Linked DNA regions of Homo sapiens: region 1 is linked to region 2. Evidence: promoter capture Hi-C in 16 types of primary human blood cells and fetal thymus (Javierre and others, 2016). All regions are on one chromosome and are shown on one strand. Each heading gives the region's core, a stretch centred on a gene start or on the middle of the fragment in contact. The rest is flanking DNA. Distances are from core to core; before and after follow the strand shown. Region 1 has its middle 40 kb from the start of SYTL4. Region 2 holds the start of SRPX2 (sushi repeat containing protein X-linked 2).

Region 1 (6,278 bases), core at 3,126-5,625, 130 kb after region 2:
TTCTGGAGACATATAAAGCTTTCTAAGGATCCTTCCTGTCTGGGCTTTTGTATGTTAAGCTCCCAGTTGAACTTTACTGGCTTCTACTCAGGAGCCCCACCTGGTGTCTATCTGTAGTACTGCAGCCTCGCTGGTGGTTTAATAAGACATAGCACTGGAGCGCCGCCTAGTGTCTATCTGTGATAATGCACTCTGGTGCACATTTAACTCTCTTTTTCTCAGCAGCCCCCAACCTGGCACCCCATTCTTATCAGTACTTAGCTTTAGCAAGACAGACACTAGTCCCATGGGAAGCCACCGCCCCCACTCCAGAAAAGTTAGAATGTTGGATATATTTTCCATTCTTCTTTCCCTACTCAGGGAGACTTTCCCAACTCAGGGAGTTGGGAGTTCTTTCCCAATCATGCCCGCTATTTTGGAAGAAAGGGCTCTGGCAAATGAATGTCGTGTTTTCTTTGTTACCACACTTCAATTTGGTTGGCTTCACACTAGCCTGTGATGCAGAAACTTATTTATTTATTTATTTATTATTTTAAGATCTGGGATACATGTGCAGAACGTGCAGGTTACATAGGCATACATGTGCCATAGTGGCTTGCTGCACCCATCAACGGTCATCTAGGTTTTAAGTCCGGCATGCATTAAGTATTTGTCCTAATGCTCTCCCTCCCCTTGACCCCCATCCCCCGACAGGCCCCAGTGTGTGATGTTCCCCTCCCTGTGTCCATGTGTTCTCGTTGTTCAACTCCCACTTATGAGTGAGAGCGTGCGGTGTTTGGTTTTCTGTTCCTGCGTTAGTTTGCTGACAGTGATGGTTTCCAGCTTCATCCATGTCCCTGCAAAGGACATGAACTCATTCTTTTTCATGGCTGCATAGTATTCTATGGTGTATATGTGCCACATTTTCTTTATCCAGTCTATCATTGATGGGCATTTGGGTTGGTTCCAAGTCTTTGCTATTGTAAATAGTGCTGCAATAAACATACGTGTGCATGTGTCTTTATAGTAGGATGATTTCTAATCCTTTGGGTATATACCCAGTAATGGGATTGCTGGGTCAAATGGTATTTCTGGTTCTAGATCCTTGAGGAATCACCACACAGTCTTCCACAATTGTTGAACTAATTTACACTCCTGCCAACAGTGTAAAAGCGTTCTTATTTCTCCACATCCTCTCTAGCATCTGTTGTTTCCTGACTTTTTAATAATCGCCTTTCTAACTGGCATGAGATGGTATCTCATTGTGGTTTTCATTTGCATCTCTCTAATAGCCACTGATGATGAGCATTTTTTATATGTTTGTTGGTCACATAAATGTCTTCTTTTGAGAAGTGTCTGTTCATATCCTTTGCCCACTTTTTGATGGGGTTGTTTTTTTCTTGTAAATTTGTTTAAGTTCCTTGTAGATTCTGGATATTAGACCTTTGTCAGATAGAAAGATTGCAAACATTTTCTCCCATTCTGTAGGCTGCCTGTTCACTCTGATGATAGTTTCTTTTCTGTGCAGAAGCTCTTTAGTTAGATTCCATTTGTCAATTTTGGCTTTTGTTGCCATTGCTTTTGGTGTTTTAGTCATGAAGTTTTTGCCCATGCCTATGTCCTGAATGGTATTGCCTAGGTTTTCTTCTAGGGTTTTTATGGTTTTGGGTTTTAAATTTAAGTCTTTCATCCACCTTGAGTTAATTTTTGTATAAGGTGTAAGGAAGGGGTCCAGTTTGTTTTCAGCATATGGCTAGCCAGTTTTCCCAGCACCATTTATTAAATAGGGAATCATTTCCCCATTGCTTGTTTTTGTCAGGTTTGTCAAAATCAGATGGTTGTAGATGTGTGGTGTTACTTCTGGGGCCTCTGTTCTGTTCCATTGGTCTATATATCTATTTTGGTACCACTACCATGCTGTTTTGGTTACTGTACCCTTGTATTATAGTTTGAAGTCAGGCAGTGTGATGCCTCCAGCTTTGTTCTTTTTGCTTGTCTTTGCTATACGGGCTCTTTTTTGGTTCCATATGAAATTTAAAGTAATTTTTTCTAATTCTGCGAAGAAAGTCAATGGTAGCTTGATGAGAATATCATTGAATGTATAAATTACTTTGGGCAGTGTGGCCATTTTTACGATATTTATTCTTCCTACCCATGACCATGGAATGTTTTTCCATTTGTTTGTGTCCTCCCTTATTTCCTTGAGCAGTGGTTTGTAGTTCTCCTTGAAGAGGTCCTTCATGTCCCCTGTAAGTTGTATTCCTAGCTATTTTATTCTCTTTGTAGCAATTGTGAATGGGAATTCACTCATGATTTGGCTCTCTGCTTGTCTATTATTGGTGTTTAGGAATGCTTGTGATCTTTGCACATCAATTTTGTATCTTGAGAATTTGCTGAAGTTGCTTATTAGCTTAAGGAGTTTTGGGGCTGAGATTATGGGGTTTTCTAAGTACACAACCATGTCATCTGCAAATAGAGACAATTTGACTTCCTCTCTTCCTATTTGAATATCCTTTATTTCTCTCTCTTGCCTGATTGCCCTGGCCAGAACGTCAAATACTACGTTGAATAGGAGTGGTGAGAGAGGGCATCCTTGTCTTCTGCCGGTTTTTAAAGGGAATGCTTCCAGCTGTTGCCCATTCAGTATGTTATTGGCTATGGGTTTGTCATAAATAGCTCTTATTATTTTGAGATATTTTATATATTATTTGAGATATTTTGAATCCTACTGAATTCATTTATCGGTTCTAAGAGTGTTTTGGACGAGTCTTTGGGGTTTTCAAAATATAAGATCATGTTATCTGCAAACAGGGACAATTTGACTTCCTCCTTTCCAATTTGGATGCCCTTTATTTCTTTCTCCTGCCTAATTGCTCTGGCTAAGACTTCCAGCACTATGTTGAATAAAAGTGGTGAAACTAGGCTTCCTTGTCTTTGTCCAGATCTTAAAAAAAAATGCTTTCAACTTTTCCTTATTCAGTTTGATGTTAGCTGTGGGTTCATCATATATGGTCTTTATTGTTTTGAGGTATGTTTTTCTCTATACCTAATTTGTTGATAGTTTTTACCATGAAGAGATGTTGAATTTTATTAAATGTTTTTCTGCATGTGTTGAGATGATTACATGGTTTTTGTCCTTCATTCTGTTGATATGATATATCACATTTATTGATTTGCATATGTTCAACCAGCCTTCCATTCCTGGGATAAATTCTGCTTGATCATGTTGTATAATCTTTTTGATGTGCTGTGGAATGTGGTTTACTAACATTTTGTTGAGCATTTCTCATCTATGTTCATCAGGGCTATTTGCCTGTAGTTTTCTTTTTTTGTTGTTGTGTCCTTGTCTAGTTTTGGTATCAGAGTAATGCTGGCTCTGTAGAATGAGTAGAAAGAATTCCTTCCTCTTCCATTGTTTGGAATAGTTTGAGGATAAATTATGTTTGTTCTTCTTTAAAACTTTGGTATAACTCAGCAGTGAAGCCATCCAGTCCTAGACTTTTCTTTATTGGGAGACTTTGTATTACTGATTCAGTCTAATTACTTGTTATCAGCCTGTTCATGTTTTCTATTTTTTTCAATCTTGGTGGGTTATATGTGACCAGGAATTAATCCATTTTCTCTAGGTTTTCCAATTTGTTAGTGTATTGTTGTTCATAATATTCTCTAATGATAATTCATATTTCTGTTTTATCACTTGTAATGTCTTCTTTTTTATTTCTGATTTTATTTCTTTGGGTCTTCTCTTTTTCTTTCTTAGTTTAACTAGTAGTTTTTTTTTTAATTTTATCTTTTCATAAAACCAACCTTTTGTTTTCTTGATCTTTTGTATTGTTTTTCTAGTCTCTATTTTGTTTATTTCTGCTCTGACATTTCTTATTCATTTCCTTCTACTAATTTTGGGTTTGGCTTGTTCTTGTTTTTCTAGTTCCCTGAAGTGCATCATTAGGTTGTTTATTTGAAATCTTCTACTTCTTTGACATAGGCATTTATTACTACAAACTTCCTTCTTAGTACTGCTTTTTCTGTATCCCATAGGTTTGGTATGGTGGGTTTCCATTTTCATTTCTTTCAAGAAATTTTAAAAATTTTCTTCTTAATTTCTCCCTTTAGCCATTGGTTGTCCAAAGGCATGTTTAATTTCCATGTATTTGTACAGTTTCCAAAGTTCCTCTTGTTATTGATTCCTAGTTTTATTCTACTATGGTCAGAAAGGATAATTGATATGATTTCAATGTTTTAAATTTTTTGAGACTTGTTTTATGACCTAGCCCATATGGTCCAACCTGAAGAATATTCTATGTGCTGATGACAAGAATGTGTATTTTGAAATTGTTTGATGAAATGCTCTGTAAATGTCAGTTAGGTCCACCTGGTCTAGAGTGTAGTTTAGCTCTGATTTTTTTGCTGATGTTTCTGTCTGGACAATCTGTCCATTGCTGAAAGTGGTCTGTTAAAAGTCCGCTAGTATTATTATATTGTAGTCTATCTCTACCTTTAGATCCATCAATATTTGCTATACATATTTGGGTGTTCAGGTGTTAGGTGCATATATATTTACAATTGTTATATACTCTTGCTGAATTGACCTATTTATCTTCATACGATGACTTTGTCTCTTTTTGCTGTTTTTGACTTAAAGTCTGTTTTATCTGATATAAATATAGCTACTCCTGCTCTCTTTTAATTTACATTTGCAGGAAGTATCCTCTTTTCATCCCTTCACTTTCAGTCTATGTGTGTCCTTACATATGAGGTGAGCCTCTTGTTGGACACATATATACAGGTCTTGTTTTTTTATCATCCAGTCATTGTATGTCTTTTAATTGAAGAATTTAATTCGTATACATTCAAGATTATTATTGATAGGTATGAACTTACTCTTGCCATTTTGTTCATTGTTTTCTAGAGGTTTTTTTTTTCAACTTTTTAGAGTCGGGGTACATGTACATATTTGTTACAAATGTATATTGCATGATGCTGAGGTTTGGGGTATGACTGAACCTATCACCCAGGTAGTGAGCATAGTACCCAATAGGTAGTTTTTCAGCCCTTTCCCCTCCTCCACCTGCTAGTAGTCACTAGTTTTGTTGCCATCTTTATGACCATGAGTAACTGATGTTTAGCTCCCGCTTGTAAGTGAGAACATGCAGTGTACGGTTTTCTGTTTCTGCATTAGTTCCCTTAGGATAATGGCCTCCAGCTGCATCCACGTTGCTGCAAAGGACATGATTTCATTTTTCCTTATGGCTGCATAGTATTCCATGGTGTCTGCATACCACATTTTCTTTATCCAGTCCACTGTTGATGGGTACCTGGGTTGATTCCATGTTTTTGCTATTATGAATAGCACTGTGATGAACATATGGATGCACGTGTCATCTTGGTAGAACAATTTATTTTTGTTTGGGTGTATACCGAGTAATGGGATTGCTGGGTCGAATGGTAGTTCAACTCTTAGTTCTTTGAGAAATCTCCAAACTGCTCTCCACAGTGTCTGGACTAATTTTTACATTTCCACCAGCCATATACAGGTGTCCCCTTTTTGCTGCAGCCTCACCAATATCTGTTTTTGTCTTCTACTTTTTAACAAAAGCCATTCTTACTGGTGTGAGATGGTATTTCCTTGTGGTTTTGACTTGCATTTCTCTGATGATTAGAGATTATGAGCATTTTTCATGTTTGTGGGTCACTTGTATGTCTTCTTTTGAGAAGTGTCTGTTCATGTCCTTTGCCCACTTTTCAATGAGGTTATTTGCTTTTTGCTTGTTGATTTAAGTTCCCTATAGATTCTGGATATTTCTAGTTGTTTTATAGATCTTTTGCTCCCTTCCTTTTCCCTTGCTTTCTTTCTTAGTTGTTTGATGGCTTTCTGTAGTGGTATACCTTGGGTCTTTTCTTTTTCTCTTTTGTATTTGTATTGTAGGCTTTTGCTTTGTGGTTACCCTGAGGTTTACACAAAACATCTTATACAGCCAGGCACAGTGGTGCATGCCTGTAATTCTAGCTACTTGGGAGGCTGAGACAGGAGGATCACTTGACCCCAGGAGTTCAAGGCTATAGTACACCATGATCATGCCTCTGAATAGCCACTGCACTCCAGCCTGGGCAACATAGTAAGACCCCATCTCTTAAAAATTTTTTTTTAATTAGCTGGCCATCAAATGCCCATCAATCAACAAGTGGATAAAGAAATTGTGGTGTGTGTGTATATATATATATGTATACACAATATATATATACACATATATATACATGTATATGATGGAATACTACTCAGCCATAAAAAGGAATGAACT
Region 2 (7,088 bases), core at 1,322-3,821:
TTGAGGCCTTACGCAGCATCTTCACCCTGGCATGTGCTAGGCTTTGTGTTGGATGGCTGGGGATATGAAGAAGACTAGGATAAGGTTCTTGCCCTTATAAGCACTCATAGTCTAGTAGGAGTCAGAGATAAGTAAAGAACAATGCCAATAAGTGTGAAAAGTCCTAAAATTGAGATATGTACAAAGTGCTGTGAGAGAAAAGGAAGGCAAAGTTAACCATCTTGGGCTGGGATGGGCTGGGGGAAGGTTCCTAGCAGCAAGGGTGGGTAGAGTTCCAACAAGCCAAGAAAGGAGGGAAGGGACCATGGAGCAGAGTGAACACGTCTGTGCAGAGGCTCCAGGGTGTGAAAGGAAGAACAAGAAGCTCAAGGAAGAGCATGAGGCAGAGGGTGTCCAGAATGAGGAGGCATGGGGTGAATGCTTAAAACTAGGCTAAGGACATAGGTGGGGTTTGCTTGTGAAGAACATGGTATGCAATGCTAAGGAACTCAGACCGTACACTATGCCAAGAGGGAGCCAGTGAGGGGGGTCTAAGAAAGAAAAAACTCTGGTAGAATGTATTACTTTGCTTGTTCCCTCTCTCTCTCATATTCCTCTCTCTCTCTCTCTCTCTCTCTCTCTCTCACACACACACACACACACACACACTCTCACATACTCAAACACACAGACACACACATTTAATATATTCACTATTTTCTCACACACGAGTTTAAAATAAACTCCTATATCTGATTTTCTGGCCCTACCCTATTTATTCAGCTTTGTTTTCTATCTTTCCCTGAAACCTCTTAGCAGTTAGCCTCTCCCTCCTCTGACCTAAAGGTGAACTCTTGTTGATGGCATTTCCTTTGCCTGAGGCTAGACCAAGGCCCACCTCTTCTCAGGTGACCCCCTCCTCTGACTTCCTCCTAGCGTCCTTAAAGTCTGTAACACAGCTTTTGGCAGTCTATTACGGTAGGGAGTTGTATTGTTTTCTAATTGATTGTGTCCCTCTTCTCTCCCCTACTAAACATAAACTCTGGGAGCTGGAGAGTAAGCTCCATAAGATCAAGAATCACACATTACTTGCTCACCACTGTATCTGCAGTGCTTAGCTTATAGTAGATGACCAGTAAAGATTCCCTAAACACACACAATTGTAATTAAGAACATGCTTGTTTGATGTCTGTCTCCTCTGTTCCATGAGGGCAGGGATTTTTGTCCATTTTGTTCACTGATGTTTCTCAAATACCTAGAACCATATGTGGCACATAATGGATGCTCAACAAGTATTTGTTGAATTAATTATGGATTACAATGCCTGGGATTTTGTCTGTCTTGTTCACCACTACATCCACCACTCTTGACATGGTAGATACTTGATAAATTTATGGAATGAATAAGGCCATGACGATCACGTCTTCTTCTTCTTCTTTTTTTTCTTCTGAGACGGAGTCTCACTCCCTCGCCCAGGCTGGAGTGCAGTGGCGTGATCTCAGCTCACTGCAACCTCTGCCTCCTGGGTTCAAGCAATTCTCCTGCCTCAACCTCCTGGGTAGCTAGGATTACAGGCGTGCACCACCACGCCCGGCTAATTTTTTTTTGTATTTAGTAGAAACGGGGTTTCACCATGTTGGCCAGGCCGATCTCGAACTCCTGACCTCGTGATCTGCCCACCTCGGCCTCCCAAAGTACTGGGATTATAGGCGTGAGTCGCCGCGCCCAGCCACATCTTCTTTACGTAGCTATTACACTGTTAAGCAAATGGTAGACACTCAATACATATTTGTCACAGGTGAATTGGAAATGAAGCAGGCTCAGGCTTGCTTTTGAACTTTGTATTCTCATAAGTACAATTCTTCCCCTTATGACTGAGAAGGGGTTACCAATTTGCTTGCATACACAGGAGAAACACCCTTTCTACAACAGCTTAAAATTCTTCCTTCTATAACCACTGATTTTCCAAGAGATGGAAATGTCAACCGTGAGGGGAGGGAGATTGTAAGTAGCTGCTCTGTGCTATGGCAGAATAGTCTCATTATCAGATACTAAAATGAAAAAATCTTGCTGAGTGAAATGTAGCCCTCCATCAGAGACCACTGGGAAGCAGCTAGATTTGCTCAAACAGCCTCCCAGTAAAGCCTCTCCAGGCATGCTTTCCCTCCATTCTTAGTGTGGGAAATCAGTCTTGATCCTTCGGGCAAGAAGTACATGTTTTTTGTTTTTTGTTTTTTGTGTTTTTTTTGTAAACAATATAATCTTAACAGAAACTGAAGTCCAGAGAAGTTAGGTCACTGGCATGAGGGTTTCAAAGCGTATCTGACGTGATACCATATAGATTGCAAGACAGTTCAGAGTTGGGAGTCTAAGGAATTACAGGAGAAATCTTAGGGAATGTCAAAGTCAGCTACAGTCTTCCCCTCTCTTTGGTGTTTGTGAGTGTTTATGAAATTCCTTTTCATTCAATTCTTATGTCATGCTGAGTCATAAAAAGAAGTGTTCTTCAGTGCAACACATCTCTGGAGGCCGCTTAAGCCAGCCTCTGTGTTAGTCATCACTATATTCACAGGCTTGGAGCCAGTGCCATTCACACTTCCCCCTCTTCTGCAGCAGACGGACTGAGTTCCTCTAATCCCTGTGTTCCTTCTCCCCCATCTTTCTAAAACCCTTCTCTGAGAGAGGAATAACTATAGCTTCAGGGATAATATAGCTTTAAGGAAACTTTTGGCAGATGTGGACGTCGTAACATCTGGGCAGTGTTAACAGAATCCCGGAGGCCGGGACAGACCAGGAGCCACTCGTTCTAGGAATGTTAAAGTAGAAGGTTTTTTCCAATTGATGAGAGGAGCAGAGAGGAAGGAGAAAGAGGAGGAGAGAGAAAAAGGGCACAAAATACCATAAAACAGGTAAGATCTGCAACTAACCCCTCCACACTCCACTACCCCAATTCACAATTGTGAAGGGGATAAGGAGACCCAGAACTTGGGCAACATGGCTGGGGGTGGAGGTCGGGGGGAAGTTCTTTTATGAAGCTGGATCATATGCTGCTTTTCATTTGTGCCGTGACCTGACTGCAAACACATGTTCCCAGCAACTTCTCAGCCCACAGCAGAGGGATGGGATGGTTGACTCTGGTGAGTCAAGTATTAAGCCTGAGATTGGGGAGAAGCTGGGCAGGTACGAGGTCACAGGTTCAGGGATCTGAAAAAGGAATGCCTCTGCTCCAGAACGAAGGAACTGGATGGAGGCTAGATGTGGGAGAGGGGTCAGTGATTAGTTATCTAATGTTCACTTCCTGGACCTCTCTTTAATCTCCTCTTTCTGCTCCTTTTGTTGCCTCTTTCTGCGTTTATCTATCTCTTTCCTTCAGCTCTGTCAGATTTTCTTTCCTTCCTTCCCACATCTTTCTACTTCCCTTGCCTCCTTCGTTTACTCTCACTTTTTCTCCGTCCTGCTTCCCTGTCACTTTCTAGACAAAATCTGAAGCCAAGTAGCAATGAACTAAAAAATACACTTTTCCCTTTCTTGGGCTTTGCATGTCCCTTAGGGACTCTGGCCAGAATCTACCACATTTTTGTTTCTCTATTTCTAGGACTGACTCCTCCCCTGAGCATGGCATTTCATTGAAAGCCCGTGAGTGAATGGGTGCTTGCTGAAATGCCCAGTGGCCAATTTATACCAATGGGCAGCAAGTTTTAATACTGTCATTTACAAAGTATTTGCCCGCTGGGAACCACAAAACTCTCGTCCCATTAGGGTGAGGACAGGGGAGGAAGTGAGAGGGCAATTGGAGCTTGTTCACCCTCTCCTCATGTACCTCAGCAGGTCCTCCTCTACCTCGCTGACTTCCTGCTGGCTCAGCAAGGTAAAACTAGAGGGTTAGGCTGGACTTGAAAGCCAGAAGCCACTACCAAACCACCAAGCCTTAAAACCCAAAGCTAAGAACAGAGCCAGAGTCCAGTTACTGCCTGGGACACTAGAGAAGGGAAACATTCAGTCCTGTCCAATACAAAGTTGGTAATAATATTGTCTAATATATAAATTACTTCCCTATATGACAGACAATAATCAATTCATGAGGTAGACAGTATTATTATTCCCATTTTATAGATGAGGAAACCGAGGCTTAGAGAAGTTAAAAAATTTGTCCAAGACCCTATAGCTAATAGGTGACAGAATTGGATTCACATCCAGACCTGTGTAACTTCAGTGTTCAAATTCTTAGACCACATATGCTAACGCTTTCCCAGATTAGTGGCTAGGAAATGTTAGTTGAATGAATGAAACCTAATGGCAGCCTTTAGGTCACCAGGTTCCCTCCTGGTTCTGTGTAACTTCATGTTGGCCTTTTCCTGGTCTCAGTACTTCAATGTCCCTCTCTATAACTTGGACCATGAAGCATTTGCATCTGATCCCACCAGAGTCAGATGAAGATTGGTTGTTTTACATCCTCCTCCTCCTGGGAGGAAAAGGGACCATAAATAACAAACAGAGTCTTGTTATTCTATAACATGAAAGATCCTTATGAGGGAGATAATATAAAAGGCATTCATTAATTATAAAATCTCTCTTCTTCCTCACAGATCCCATATTTCTGCTTCCCCTCACTTTTAGAAGTTAATTGATGGCTGACTTCTGAAAGTCACTTTCCTTTGCCCTGGTACTTCAGGCCATATACATCTTTTCTTGTCTCCATAATCCTCCCTTTCAAGGATGGCCAGTCAGCTAACTCAAAGAGGAGCTCTCTTTCTGCTGTTCTTCCTAACTCCGGCAGTGACACCAACATGGTATGCAGGTAAGTTCTAGGAGCTGTTGCCTATTATTTCCAGGAAGGATAGGTCCTAGACCAAGACTTGGAGAAGGAAGAGTTAGACTACAAAAAGAGACACTTATTTTCTATACAGAGAAGTATTAAAGGACAATAAAGATGGTTAAACATGGCAACAGACTACCAAGGGAGGCTTTTAAGGCAGCCTAACAAGAGCTATTTGAAATAGGTGAAATAGGCCACACTAGTACAAACATGAGAAGGTTGGACATCACCTTTGAGGCCATTGTCTCACCTGCTTGTGCACTTAGCTTCCTGAAAACCATTTTCTAACATGAAATCCTTTATGAGTCAAATCTTTATTAATATTAATTCTTTTATGAGTCAAATACTCTTGTCAAGACCACAAAAATGGACTTAGACCACATACCTCATTTGGAAAAAATAAGGGGGGCAGGCAATCTATTCAAGTGAAATGAGAATCCATCAGACTTCTTCCCACCCTCTCTGATCTTATTTATAAAATGAGATTTTTTATAGCCCTTTTATGCCAAAGCTGTTAGTGGCAATACAGATCACATCCTTTTAATCAGGAATTTCCCAGTTTCTTCTCATTTGTTCTTTACTTCAGAAGGGATGGAGATTTCTGGATTCCTGAATATTTCACTCTTCACCCAGAGAGCCAGAGAACAAACTCAGTGAGAAGAGGGAAAGGGGAGGGGGAAGGGATGAGGGCAGGATAATGAAGTGGCATACAGAGGTTTTATATGGGGCCCAGCTGGCATTCCAAGTGCTAAGAATATTCTGTGGCCTGCAGTGTCTGCCCTCACAGGGGCCCGTGGGGAGTAGTGGGGGAAGGAGACAGACCCAACCAATGGGGTTAGGAAAATATCCAGAGATGAGTAAATAACAAACTGCTCCCATCACAGCCACAGTCCCTGCAGCTAAAATTTTCCACATGCCCTTAGCTCCTGGTGGAGGCCTTTGGCAGTAGCTCTGTTTGTCTGGAACAGCTGCATCAAGCTTTCAAACAAATATGCAAACTTCTTCCCCTTTTTGGCTTAACCTGGCTTTGTAGGGGGTGAAGCACAAGGACTGACATTGAGATGAAAAAATTCAAGTCAAGCCCTTGGCAGAGCATATCCTGTTTGGGGTTAAAGGTGCCTCAAGTCTCCAGGAGATAAATATGCAACTGTCCTCCCCAACCTCCCCTTGCTTCAGTTCATTTACAGAGACCAAAATCCAGCCAAAGACCACAGGACTAAAGGAGTGGAGATTAGATGGCTCGAAGCCCAATTCTGAACACCTGTATGAAACCTCATGGCATGCAAAGGTCTTTACCTTTCCCAAAACAGAAGCCTGAGCTGTTGGAGGCGTGAGCACAGAGCAGTTTTTTAAAAGTTAGATTCAGTTGAGGTTCTCAAAGGGCTATTTGCAAAGGTGGAACACCCCACTTCCACGTGAATCACAAGTCACCACTCCTGAGAAGCTCAGATTGGTGAGGCCTCTGCCAGCCCTGCAATTCCACTCATTCTTCCCTCTTCTATCCTTAGGAGGCCACATGATGAGAGACATTTCCCCTACACTGCTAGCTCAGCTGTTGGGCTTGCCTTCATGCCTTTGTTCATTCATTCCTTCAACAAATATTTATTGAGGACTCTTTATGCATCCAGGACAGTTTTGTTTACTTGTACAGCCTTGTCTTCAAATGGGCATGGCACAGAATAGCAGCCAAATGTGGATCCAGGGCTAATCAGAAAAAGGGTCCAGGAATAATCAGCAGTGGCTGGGAAAAGTTAAGAATATAAATAAAGCAAAGAATGGGTTAAAAGTGTGTTCTGGCATATCTGTGCAGCCCAGAAAGTCAGACTGTATTTGTCATCATAAGCCAAGGATTAATATGAATCTTAAGATAGTCTTTTAACTATCAATTACATGTCTAACTATACTTTTGTGAAGGGCAGTGCTTAGAGGGCCTGACTGTACTATGGAGGTTGGAGGAACCCAGTAACAGACCACACAGTAACCAAGCACTGATTGATCTAAAGGAACTGAGGAATGCTCCCCAAGTCCTTCCCCCAGGGCTGAAGAGGGACAAGCAGACAGAATAATGTAGGAAATGTTCCCCTTTAATTTCATTCTTATACCCATCTTAGTATTCCACCATTTGCAAAAAAGAAAAAAAACTCAAAGATAGGCAAAGAGGGGAAATGGGAAAATGGAAAGGTTTAAAGTGGCAAGATGGTCTGAACCCTTTCTCCACACAAAGCATAGTTGGCACTGGTCCAGCTACTTCCGCACCCTGATGGAGACTGTAATTATCTTATTGAGTCTTCCC

The links. Contacts are between HindIII fragments. The CHiCAGO score rates a contact against its expected background, and 5 or more counts as called.
Region 1: a fragment that was not itself captured here is called in contact with the fragment with the promoter of SRPX2 in region 2 in 1 of 17 cell types (M2 macrophages); the score reaches 5.8 in M2 macrophages.

What each region holds. Positions count from the first base shown.
Region 1 is chrX:100,768,785-100,775,062 of GRCh38, forward strand. No RefSeq gene overlaps it. Among named protein-coding and RNA genes, the nearest start is that of SYTL4, 40 kb to the left of the region's middle. RefSeq lists an enhancer at 1-250. The HindIII fragment of the contact is 8,719 bases long and covers 17-6,278 here.
Region 2 is chrX:100,641,628-100,648,715 of GRCh38, forward strand. It overlaps SRPX2 (sushi repeat containing protein X-linked 2), which reads left to right and starts at 2,572. Exons shown (of 11, transcript NM_014467.3): 1 at 2,572-2,888; 2 at 4,566-4,777. The coding sequence starts at 4,696. RefSeq lists an enhancer at 5,565-5,859. The HindIII fragment of the contact is 8,191 bases long and covers 1-5,771 here.